Linked DNA regions of Homo sapiens: region 2 is linked to region 1. The links are contacts of gene promoters, found by promoter capture Hi-C in blood cells and fetal thymus (Javierre and others, 2016). All regions are on one chromosome and are shown on one strand. Each heading gives the region's core, a stretch centred on a gene start or on the middle of the fragment in contact. The rest is flanking DNA. Distances are from core to core; before and after follow the strand shown.

Region 1 (5,976 bases), core at 1,355-3,854:
AATGACAAAATACTTTGTCATTATAAATTAACTGGGGCGGTGGTTCACACCTGTATTCCCAACGCTTTGGGAGGCCAAGACGGCGGGCATCACCTGAGTTTGGGAGTTCAAGACCAGCCTAACCAAGATGGCGAAATCCTGTCTCTACTTAAAATACAAAATTAGCCGGGCGTGGTGGCACGTGCCTGTAATCCCAGCTACTCAGGAGGCTGAGGCAGGAGAATCACTGGAATCCGAGAGGCAGAGGCTGCGGTGAGCTGAGATTGTGCCACTGCACCCCAGTCTGGGCAACAAGAGCAAAACTCCATCTCTAAATAAATAAACAAACTTTAAATTATCATTAAAAAATAAAATCTAAAATAAGCCCTAAACCTTACTTTAGTTAATAATTTCAGCCTATTCCTTATCTAACCATCTTGCCAATCTGCCAAGGAACAATTAACTCTACTATTATATTGTCCCTTTAATTTTCTCTAGTAGACAGTCTCAAAGAAAACTGAAAAAGGAAACATCTAAATAATTCCTAAACTGGATATATAATCCTAGAACGATGGTTGGGCGGGGCGGGGGGGGGGGTTCCATAAATATATCTAATGTTGACAAATCCAAGTATCTCACCAGATTTTACTTTTTCTTGCCCCCAGTTTTTTGGGTCATCAAAAAATTCTTCTAGTCCTTTCCTTGACAATGTGGTATGAAGTAATCTATATTGGTGAAAGGATGTCACATTTGGTGTACTCTTAGGCAACAAACTAAGAAAAAACCTGCAATTGAACACACATAAACAAGTAAAAGTTTTATAATATCTGGATTTTATAAGCAATAAACATTATCATAATAAACATAATCATTTTGTCATCGATAACATTTTAAAAAGCTACTCAGGGTTTCTGCACAAGAATTAATTTTTTTTTCTTATTTAGAGACTGGGTCTCACTATGTTGTCCAGGCTGGTCTCGAACTCCTGGGCTCAAGTGATCCTCCCACCTTGGCCTCCCAAAGTGCTGGAATTACAGGGATGAGCCACCATGCTTGGCCACAATAAATTTTGAAAATGCTTTAGAAAGTATTGTTAATACTGCATTATAGAAGCTGCTACCTTATAATTTCAGAGGTAACATAGTTACACAATTATATTTTAAGGTAACATTTTTGGGTCCTTCTTACATTGCTAATGGGTGCAAGCGCAGGTAAAAAGAGCAGTCAATTTTGCAACATGTGGGCTGGGCACGGTGGCTCACACCTGTTATCCCAGAAATTTGGAAGGCCGAGGTGGGAGGATCACTTTGAGCCCAGGAGCTCAAGACCAGCCTGGGCAAGATGGCAAAACCTCATCTTTAACAAAAATACAAAAATTAGCCAGGCATAGTAGCACGTGCCTTATAGTCCCAACTACTCGGGAGGCTGAGGTGGGAGGACGCTTTGAGCCTGGGAGGCAGAGGTTTCAGTGAGCTGAGATCACACCATTGCACTCCAGCCTGGGCGACAGAGTCAGTCCCTGTCTCAAAAAACAAAAACAAAAAAACCTCACAATTTTGCAACATGTATCAGGAGCCTCAAATACTTCCTCCTTTAATTCAGTAATTCTGCATCTAGAAGTTTCAACTGAAAAAATTATTATAGATGGGAATTTATAAATTAAGATGTTTATTAAAGCACTATATAGGATGTCAAGTTTTTAATTATGTAAATACGCAGCTAAGAATGGTTTAAAAATTACTGTGCATCTGGATGATAAATTATTATGCAGTAATTCAAAAATCCTGTTTTTAAAAAATAGTTAACGACCTGAGATGATTTGAAACTAAATAATGAAGTTTATCACAAGTGTTGTATCCCTACCAAAAATATTTAGCCTAAATCTTATAATGAGGAAACAATCAGACAAATCCAAATGAATAAGATTCTTAAAAAGCTAATCTCATCAAAATGTCAACAACATTAAGAAAAAAAAAAAAAAGAAATTGTTCCGGATAGAGACTAAAGAGTCATGGCAACCAATGTAATAAATGGATACTTCACTGGATCCAGGACCAAGAAAAATAAATAAATAAAAGAAGTTACTAAGTTACCAGTTACTTTCATTGTAACACATCCTGTAAATACAAATATCTCTTCTTTTTTAATCCATCCAAACTTGACACAGACTTGAGTATCACAACAAAAACATCTTCGGTAAAGTTTTTCGCACCTCACCCAGCCCAAGAGGATGCTTCTGTACTTATAGATGTATTTACTTCAACAAATGCTGGACATCTACAAACCCCATATACTGTCTTGTCCACAGCAGGCAGCAACAAAATGAGGAAGGAATAGAAATGTCGGAGGTGAGCGACTTCTCCAAGGTCACTCACTCCTCACCAAAGTGGGCTCCGGCTCTGCCATCCAGGCGGCCGTTCCATTCTTGAGTTGTTCTCGGCATCTCGGCATCTCGGCAACCAAACAAGATCCAAAGTTGGAGAGGTGGGCAAACCTACTTTATACATCACTTACCCTGTGCAGGCAGGGACCTGAGGAGTTATTAACGATCGGGAAGATTTCAGGGCGGATGAAACTCTCCTACAAAGAAGGGCCAAACCGGCCGCAGCCATGTTTTCGCATAACTGGCAAAACGCGTTTCCGCCAACGATAGCGTCACTTCCGGCGTCTCAAGCCGGCGGTGAGGAGAATAGAAAACTTGCCCTCACTTAAGATGGCCACATCCTGCCTTTGTCCTCATTGGTAAATTGGCTCTCTCAGCTTCCGTGACCCGCCTCCCTTCTTCCTCCTGCCCGTAGTAGCCATGGCGGCCATGAGTTTGTTGCGGCGGGTTTCGGTTACTGCGGTGGCAGCTCTGTCTGGCCGGCCCCTTGGCACTCGCCTCGGATTTGGGGGCTTCCTCACTCGTGGCTTTCCGAAGGCTGCTGGTGGGTGCTGGCCTAGGGAGAACGGGCGTGAAGCGGGTGCGGGGCGAGAAAAGGGAGGACGCTTCCAGGGTGACCTTGGTGGGATCCGGAGGGAGCCGGGACAAGTTGTGGGCTTGGGGCTTGACAGGAGAGACGGAGCACGAGCTATATGAGGGGTTTTCCTGAAGTAGCCAGATAGATCGTGTTTACATTATTAGCATTTCTAAAACGTTGTTATTCACCATCCCAATTAATGCTAATTTGCGGATGAAGCTGAGTCTAGAAAGGTATAGAGCTGAGATCTGTATCTCTAGGGCACAAGCTTATTGTTGCGTTCCACCTGCCCAAAGGCTAGGTTCTAGTCCCACAGATGCAAAGTCATCTTGCCGAGAAGCCCACCTATGCTAAGGAATATGAAGACAGGTAATATGTAGACAGGTAAAGAGGCTCAGGGCCAACTTATTCTTTAGGCACAGTAAGTACCGTGCCGCCCAATAATGAGATGCAGATGAACTGGGGAGGAAGAGAGGTTTTTGTTTTGTTTTGTTTTGTTTGTTTGTTTTTTGAGACAGAGTCTCACTCTGTTGCCCAGGCTGGAGTGCAGTGGCGCGATCTTGGCTCACTGCAACCTCCGCCTCCTGGGTTCAAGCGATTCTCCTGCCTGAACCCATGATAGTTTTAGGGGTCTACGAAAGTCTTTTAATTTAAATTTCTTTTTTAAAAAAACCATAATGTTTATGAATATGATAACGAATCCAGCCTGTATTATGTTCGTTTTATACCAATGCAGTCATAAAATATTATTTTTAATAACTTAGACGAAGGGGCCCTTGAAGGCAAAAGTGCCTAGGTCTCAGGAAAGTCATAATACAGTCTTTTTTTTTTTTTCTTTTGAGACAGTCTCACTCTGTCACCCAGGCTGGAGTGCAGTGGCACCATCTTGGCTCACTGCAATCTCCACCCCCCGGGTTCAAGCGATTCTCCCGCCTCAGCCTCCCCAGTAGCTGAGGCTACAGGTGCACACCACCACGCCTGGCTAATTTTTGTATATTTAGTAGAGATGGGGTTTCACCATGTTGGCCAGGCTGGTCTCGAACTCCTCACCTCAAATGATCCGCCCACCTCAGCCTCCCAAAGTGCTGGGATTATAGGCGTAAGCCACTGCACCTGACCAATACAGTCTTAATAGGGCTATTTGGACCTCCTTGGAGACAGTGAGTTGCATCATGGCGGTGTGAATAATCATAGCAAAGATCAAATGCTTGATATTCAGTGTACTTTATTATCTCAGAGACTCTGCAAAGAAATTACAATGTTATTTTCATTTTACAGATGAGGAAACTGACTCAATTATTAAATAATGTGTCACTAAATAATAGCCAACATTTACTGAGCACCTGTTACGTGTCAAGCATCCTTTTTTATTTTTATTTTTTTCAAGACGGAGTCTTGCTCTGTTGCCCAGGCTGGAGTGCAATGGCGTGATCTTGGGTCACTGCAACCTCTGCCTCCTGCGTTCAGGCGATTCTCCTGCCTCAGCCTCTTGAGTAGCTGGGATTACAGTTGCACGCCTCCATGCCCGGCTAATTTTATGTGTTTTTAGTAGAGATGGGGTTTCATCATGTTGGCTAGGCTGGTCTCGAACTCCTGACCTCGTGATCCACCTGCCTTGGCCTCCCAGAGTGCTGAGATCACAGGCGTGAGCCACCCCACCTGACCTCAAGCATCATTTTAAGGGTTTAAAGTATTAATTTATTTAATCCTCTTCATTAGATATATACTGTAAGCTATTTGCCCTGTGCAATAGAAGCAGGTAAAGAGGAAGTGAAACACTTAAAGTCAGAAAGTTGTCTCCAGCCTCAAAATATCTTGTTCTCTTTTTACCCCTATTCTCCCAGTTTAATTTGAATTATGCCACTCCACAGGATGAGGCAATATACATAGGGATTTGCTGGAAACATGATGCAAAGAACCAGTGGTATTTAACAAATTTCCAGCAGGAATTTGAACTTGTTACAAAACTACATTCCTTGATGAAAATCCCTTTATAAGCCATTTCTGATTACAGATATTCTCATATAGCCAAATACAAATCCTTCAAATACTCGCTCTGGTAGTATTCAATCAAATCCAGCTGGAGATAAACTGCAGCAAAATTTCACCCCCAGTTTCTCTTTCCACATTATTGCCCTTTCTTGGGGTTCTCAAAGGATCATTACCGTGTTCTGCGCCCTTTCCAATCAGAGCAGGGAAGGTTCTAATAGCTATGTTTACTAAAGGTTACTGTGTTTTCAGCTGTGTACCTGCTTTCAAAGGTATTTTGCATCTGTCACTGTGATATGAAAGCTTTTAATCTCTTACATGGTTGTTTATATCTGTCCCTACAAGAATGTAAGCTCTAATGTAGTAGAGAGCCTGTCTTGTTTTGTTTTTTCTGGAGATAGACTGCCTATCTTCAAATTCTGGCTCTAGAATTCAGAAGCCATGTCTGTGATCATCACATCTTGGAAGCTAAAGTGGAAGACACCTAATTGCTCATAACCTGCATTTCCTCCTCTTTAAAAAAGATGAGAATTTTAACCTGCCTCAAAAGGTAGTTGTGAAGAGTGAGTGGAAAAAATCAACAGTGCCTGGCAGCAGTAGCCTTTAAAAAAATTGTGGTAAAGTACACATAACATTTACTATTTTAACCATTTTTAAGTGCACCGTTCAGTGGTATTAAATACATTCCTAATGCTATGCAACCATCACCATCATCCAACTCCAGAACTTTTTTCATATGGTAAAACTAAAACTCTGTATCCGTTAAACAATAACTCTCCATTCCCCTTCCACGTAGCCCCTGGTAACCACCATTCTGCTGTCTTTATGATTTTGACTACTCTATTTCTCATGTAAGTAGAATCATATAATATTTGTCTGTCACTTAGCATAATATCCCCAAGGCATATTTATGTCGTAGCATATGTCAGAATTTCCTTCCTTTTTAAAGCTGAATTGTCCGTTGTCCATTGTATGTATTTACCCCATTTTGCTTATCCATCATCTGTCAATTGGGTTGCATCTAGGTTTTGTTTGTTTGTTTGTTTGT
Region 2 (5,976 bases), core at 1,735-4,234, 1.4 Mb after region 1:
CACAACCAACCATTGAAAAATGATATAAACCATCTTCATAAGGTGATTTTAGAAGTTTGAGGGGAAAATATGATTTTAAAATTGGTTAAAAACACGATGTCATTATGTTTTGTTACTTTTTTTTTTTTGAGACGGAGTTTCGCTCTTGTTGCCCAGGCTGGAGTGCAGTGGCACAATCTCGGCTCACCGCAACCTCTCCCTCCTGGGTTCAAGTGATTCTCCTGCCTCAGCTTCCTGAGTAGCTGGGATTACAGGCATGCACCACCATGCCTGACTAATTTTGTATTTTTAGTAGAGACAGGGTTTCTCCATGTTGGTCAGGCTCGTCTCAAACTCCAGACCTCAGGTGATCTGTCTACCTCGCCTCCCAAAGTGCTGGGATTACAGGCGTGAGCCACCAGCCTGGCCTAGTGTCATTACTTTTAAAGCTTGTTTAAAAAAACGACTTTGAATCACCAACCTGTGTTTTACAAAATTGAGAGGCTGGAATAAATGGTTTCCCTGATTTTATTAGAGTATTTGTTTTCTATTGCAGTAATAAATTATCACAAACTTAGAGGCTTGACCACAGAAATTTATTATCTTATAGTTCTGTTGGTCAGAAGGCTGACATGGGTCTCACTAGGCTAAAATCTTGTCAGCTGGGCTACGTTTCTTTCTGGAAAGTCTAGCGGGGATTCCCCTTTCAGTAGTTTAGAAAATTTCTCTACTTTTAAAGACCCAGTGAGATTAGTTTGGACCCACCTGGATAATCCAGGATAATCTCTCTATCTCAAGGTCCTTAACCTTAGTCACATTTGCAGAGTCCTTTTTGCTATCACAGAAACATTTAATATGTGTTATTAACAGTTATTTAATATGAGTAATGTTGAGCACTAGCCAATACATTAAAATTTTGGGGGGTACGGCCTCAATATCTGTTTTACCTGCTGAAATCTATGATTTAGACATTCCCTCTAAGTCTCTTGAATACTATATGTAGGTTAAATTTAAGGAAGACTTTACTTGCTGTGACACGGGGTTAGATAAATACTACACTGGATTTCTAAGGATACTTCAATATGAACTTTTGAGAGAGTCTTCAGAATGAAGTATTCTTCATTTGCCCTGAATTTTGGTAATGTTTTCAGGTAGGGTATAGGTTTGTAAATAAATTCAGAAGTTCTTAAACATTCTGAAAGGCTTTTTTTTTCACTATTCAAGGAAAGATAAATTGCCTTCATTACAACTTTTATGACATCCTGTTAATAAAGTACTTTTTGTCATTTGGTGAAATAAATGTTAGGGGAAATTAATTCCCTTCCCTGAGATTCTAATCCCAACAAAGAATTGAAAGTGAGTAATAGAAATTTGATGTATTCTTTGAAAAATACACATCCAACTAATTACCTAATTGTTTTTATAATTGACTAGTTACATCTATTAACACCATGTAGAGAAAAGGTAGGCATCCTAGAGTTATCGTTAAAGGAGAAAGGAAGTGAGGCACCTTCATGTATAAAACTTTACATTTTATTCCCTGCACCTTAATACTTAAAACTTCTTATGTCTGAAGAGCTCTTGTTTGCATTTTTCCTCAAATGATTGCAGAGTTTAAATATAGGGAACTTCAAGGTATTTCATGAAATCACTCTTATCTGAGAGTTTAGCAAATGAACTTCAAAATAATGCAGCAAATTATTTGGTTGAGAAAATTGTTATACACTCTGCCAGGCATTTGAGGACATATAAGATGGAGTTCCACCCTTTATCATAGACCAATTTTGAAGTAATTCCACAGGGGGAAAAAATAACAACATGGCACAGTCTGTGATAGATGTGGGGCGATTTTAGGATAACAAAAAATGGGGAGAGATCTGTCTTAGTTGCAGTGGTCTGAAGTTAGAATTTGAACTAGGCCCTGAAGGAGATATATTTGGTCATATAAGAGGGAAAGAAGAAGTGGCATCCCAGAACTAACAAGTGGAAATGAATATGATAGTGATTGAGTCATATGTATCTGACATTTGAGTTACAGTAATTATTAAATAATGATAATGTAGGCCTCTGATTATATCTTTGTGGTGTTTAAATAAATTTTTGAAAGGTCACCATTACAATAGTTGCAGTGTTAGAAATGGTCTGTAAACTTTTAAAGGCAATGCTGAATATTTGTCTCACTGGTCATGGCTTCAGTTCTGTTGTCAGGTGAGAGACCTTCTGTTTCAGAGAAACCTTAAATTCTGTTTAGTAATTGCAAATATTAGGTTGGTGCAAAAGTAATTGCAGTTTTTGCCATTAAAAGTAAGAAAAGCAAAAAGTAAAAGTAGTTACTTTTAATGGCAAAAACCGCAATTTAAGATGCTAGTAAAACATGCCATCATTTTATATACAACCTACTGGAAAAATTACTTCTAGCTTATAATAAAGATGCCATCAATTATAAGAAATATCTTGATTTCAGAGATGTTAACATGTGAAAAGTATACCCTAGAATCAATGAAATTATGGTGAAATACACTATACAGTTAAACTATTCAGTTTTCTAAATATGATTAATTTACTCAAATATTGAAGTTATTTTTATTGTACTAATAATTTAGGTTACTAAAACCCAAATCAGCAGAAACATTTGACTATCCATACTAAGTACATTCTAATATTGATAAATGATGTTCTGTATGGTTTTTTTTTTTTGGTGCCAAAACCTAGGAATTAATGTTCTGTATATTTTCTGTAATTTTTCTGTTGACTGCATTTCTGCACATCAGTTTTTTTTTTAACTTCCATGACTTTGTATTTCCTGGATATTATCCCCTTTTGCTGATGAGATGGTCACACCTTTGACTATATTACATGACATAGCACATCTTAGCAGACTGCAGTGAGGGATTCTTCTGCTGGTTTTGAAGAAGTGAGCGGCCTTCTGCACATCAGTTTATTTTTTAATCTGTATTAACTAGTAGATACTATACTAGTATATTAATAGTATAATAATTGATTATTCCTTAGTACGTTTCAGATTGATTTTAACTTTCATGGATCTTTCTTTGAAGCAGCCAAACAGTATTGCTTATTTAAACAATAATTTGTAGGACATAATTTTGAACATTTTAAAAGGCTTTTTATAGAAATCTAAGTGGTTTATGTTCTTTTCTTTTCCAAGGTACAAATTCTGAGCTGTCTAACCCCTCTGAAACGGAATCTGAGCGTAAAGACGAGCTGAGTGATTGGTCATTGGCAGGAGAAGATGATCGAGACAGCCGACATCAGCGTGACAGCAGGAGACGCCCAGGAGGAAGAGGCAGAAGTGTTTCAGGGGGTCGAGGTCGTGGTGGACCACGTGGTGGCAAATCCTCCATCAGTTCTGGTAGTCTTTTCTATACTCTGTCAGCATCCATTATTTGTAAACAGTTTAATTTTACAAAAGTTAATTCATCTCCCAGGGCCACCCATTTTTGGAAGTTTCTCTTGCTACTCATTGTCTTAGAGAAAGTAGTGGACCATATAGCAGTATCAGGAAAAGCCCTCGTAGAGTGTTTCTCAGTGAAGGTTTACTTAGAATATACTGGTCAGAACTTTAGTTGGCAGCTTTTCTTTATATGATGAGGGTCAGATGTTTCTCTCTTCAGGTTTTGGAGGCTTATTTAATTAGAATTTTTTTTGTTTTCCCTAGAATTTTGGGGTTATGTTTTTTTGTTTGCCAGACAGACCCAGAGATTTCTAATGCACAGAGAGATGTCAGTACTTTTCTATACTTAATATTGAAAACGAAGTGAAGAGCATTCTTAGCTACACTATGTAGTACTTTGGGAACAGGGAAAAATTGTGGAATTAACTAAGTTTTTTAATTGTTGGAGGAACTGTGCTGTAAAGAGGAGTGTTTGGATGACTAAAGATTTGAGGGTGTAGGAAACGTTTTACTTAATTACTTCTGTCTTCTAAAATTTTTTTATGCTTTACATTAAGTTGTAGGAGTTTCCAGAATATCCTTGGTTACCATAACGGGCTAGGGAGTTAATTGCCAGGGATAGATACATAGACTATATTAAGGATATAACTTTAACATATCATTATGGTATACCACGTTAAGAAACCCGCACCTTCCTTAATGTTATACCCATGAAAACTTATGTAGTATTTTAATATTATAGAAAGTGTGTGTAGATACATTAAATATAGATGCCAACTGTGCTTACAAATTACAAAAACTGGAACAAATCAGGGCAAAAATTAGGAACTTGTTCTTTGTTTGTTTAGATTTTCTCCCTTTCCACAGTAATACTCTTTGAGCCTTAAGTTTAGTTTACAGGCTTTCAGGGTAATAGTTTTTATATTTTAGTACACTTTGTACAGTTACCAAGGTGTTTAAAATTACAGTATACTGAATTGCAAAATAAATGTACTTGACCTAGTGTTTTATGATTAATGGATACGCTTAGTGTCTTTTGCAAAGATGCTTAGCTTGCTAGCTGTTACCAAAGGAATCTTAGGAAAAATCGGAATTAGGTGAATTTCTTCTATAAATTTGATTGTTGGAGGTAATAAATGCACATAGGTAAGATGGGTATTTTTCTTATGAATTGTACCTTACAGTTTTTCCTTTTCCACCTTCACATCACCTTCCATAATGTTTCTAAAGATGGAGTACTAGTCAGCATTCGTTTCAACATTTTCCTTTCATAACCAGTTAGAAGTTCAACCTTATTTAATTGGCTGCTTTGTTTCAACTTGTCTTGATTGCTTCAGTTCAGTTACGGATTTCTATTATGTCATGGAATGCAGGTATTGAATATTATTTGGGAAACAGTCCATCAACATCAACACAACAAAGCTGCAGTCATTTTGAACTCAGTTAAGGGGATGAAAGCTCGCTCTTATAATTATTTCTTAACAGCTGAATATTTGTTTCTTTTCATTTTTGTTTTTCTAGTCTCTGGGCAGGATTACCTTGAAATGTGAATGCAAGAATTAGCATTTAATACACTATTTTCTAATGTATATTTTAAAAACAAGGCACAGGAAATGTTAGGAAGCCAAGATGTCTGCTTACTTTCTGCTTTAATTTTTCATCACCACTTAAAGTTTTATCATATTTAATTATCTTTGTTATTTTCCAGGTAAATAATATTGAAAACATTTTATTTGAAGACAGTGCATTTTTATTGGGGGAGACTGAAGTTTATTTGTCATTGATATAGTTCAATATAGATCAAACATTCATAATTGCAGTACTCTTAAACGAATATTTCTTGCCTCTGACATGAATATAGTGCTCAAAGATCCAGACAGCAATCCATACAGCTTACTTGATAATACAGAATCAGATCAGACTGCAGACACTGATGCCAGCGAATCTCATCACAGTACTAACCGTCGTAGGCGGTCTCGTAGACGAAGGACTGATGAAGATGCTGTTCTGATGGATGGAATGACTGAATCTGATACAGCTTCAGTTAATGAAAATGGGCTAGGTATGTAAGCACTTAGGGAAGAGAAATATATATATATATATATATATATATATATATATATATAATTGTAAACTATTGTTAGTATATGAAGCTTTTTTCAAAGAAATATGCAATTCACAAATTGACTTTTTCTTAGTGTTTACTTTGAACAAGGTAGATAGCTTTTTGTCTATCTTAAATGTTTAGTTCTCAGATTTGTTATAGCCAAATTATTTGAAACTTGGAGGGTTAAAGTGCCCTTTGATGCCATTAAATCAGTACAAATATTCAGCTGGCAAGGTACTTAGTGCTTTTATTGTCCCCAAGCTAAAATCAGGCTTTCATCTTGCCTCTTTTAAAATAATTATAAATGACACTGGTAAAGGTACATATATCAAGAGTAGGCATTAATTTTCAAGGGCTAAAATGTCATTAACTTCGGTATAAACCAAACTGTACTAGAGAGGAAGACTGTGTCCCTGAATGATGGCAGTTTAAGTCTGAGTTTTACTGTGAGTTAAAACCCTCTGAATTTCCAGATGAT

What was found. The method cuts DNA at HindIII sites, captures the fragments that hold promoters and counts their contacts. A CHiCAGO score of 5 or more calls a contact.
Region 2: a contact is called between a fragment that was not itself captured here and the fragment with the promoter of MRPL47 in region 1, in 1 of 17 cell types (monocytes). The highest score is 5.3, in monocytes.

What each region holds. Positions count from the first base shown.
Region 1 is chr3:179,602,034-179,608,009 of GRCh38, forward strand. It overlaps MRPL47 (mitochondrial ribosomal protein L47), which reads right to left and starts at 2,605. Exons shown (of 7, transcript NM_020409.3): 1 at 2,494-2,605; 2 at 619-764. The coding sequence starts at 2,591. NDUFB5 (NADH:ubiquinone oxidoreductase subunit B5) reads left to right here and starts at 2,761. Exons shown (of 6, transcript NM_002492.4): 1 at 2,761-2,906. The coding sequence starts at 2,783. RefSeq lists enhancers at 1,895-2,761, 2,687-2,886, 2,762-3,628, 3,067-3,226, 3,257-3,346. The HindIII fragment of the contact is 8,643 bases long and covers 1-3,205 here.
Region 2 is chr3:180,964,906-180,970,881 of GRCh38, forward strand. It overlaps FXR1 (FMR1 autosomal homolog 1), which reads left to right. Exons shown (of 17, transcript NM_005087.4): 14 at 3,146-3,349; 15 at 5,253-5,453. Among named protein-coding and RNA genes, the nearest start is that of DNAJC19, 22 kb to the right of the region's middle. The HindIII fragment of the contact is 5,116 bases long and covers 427-5,542 here.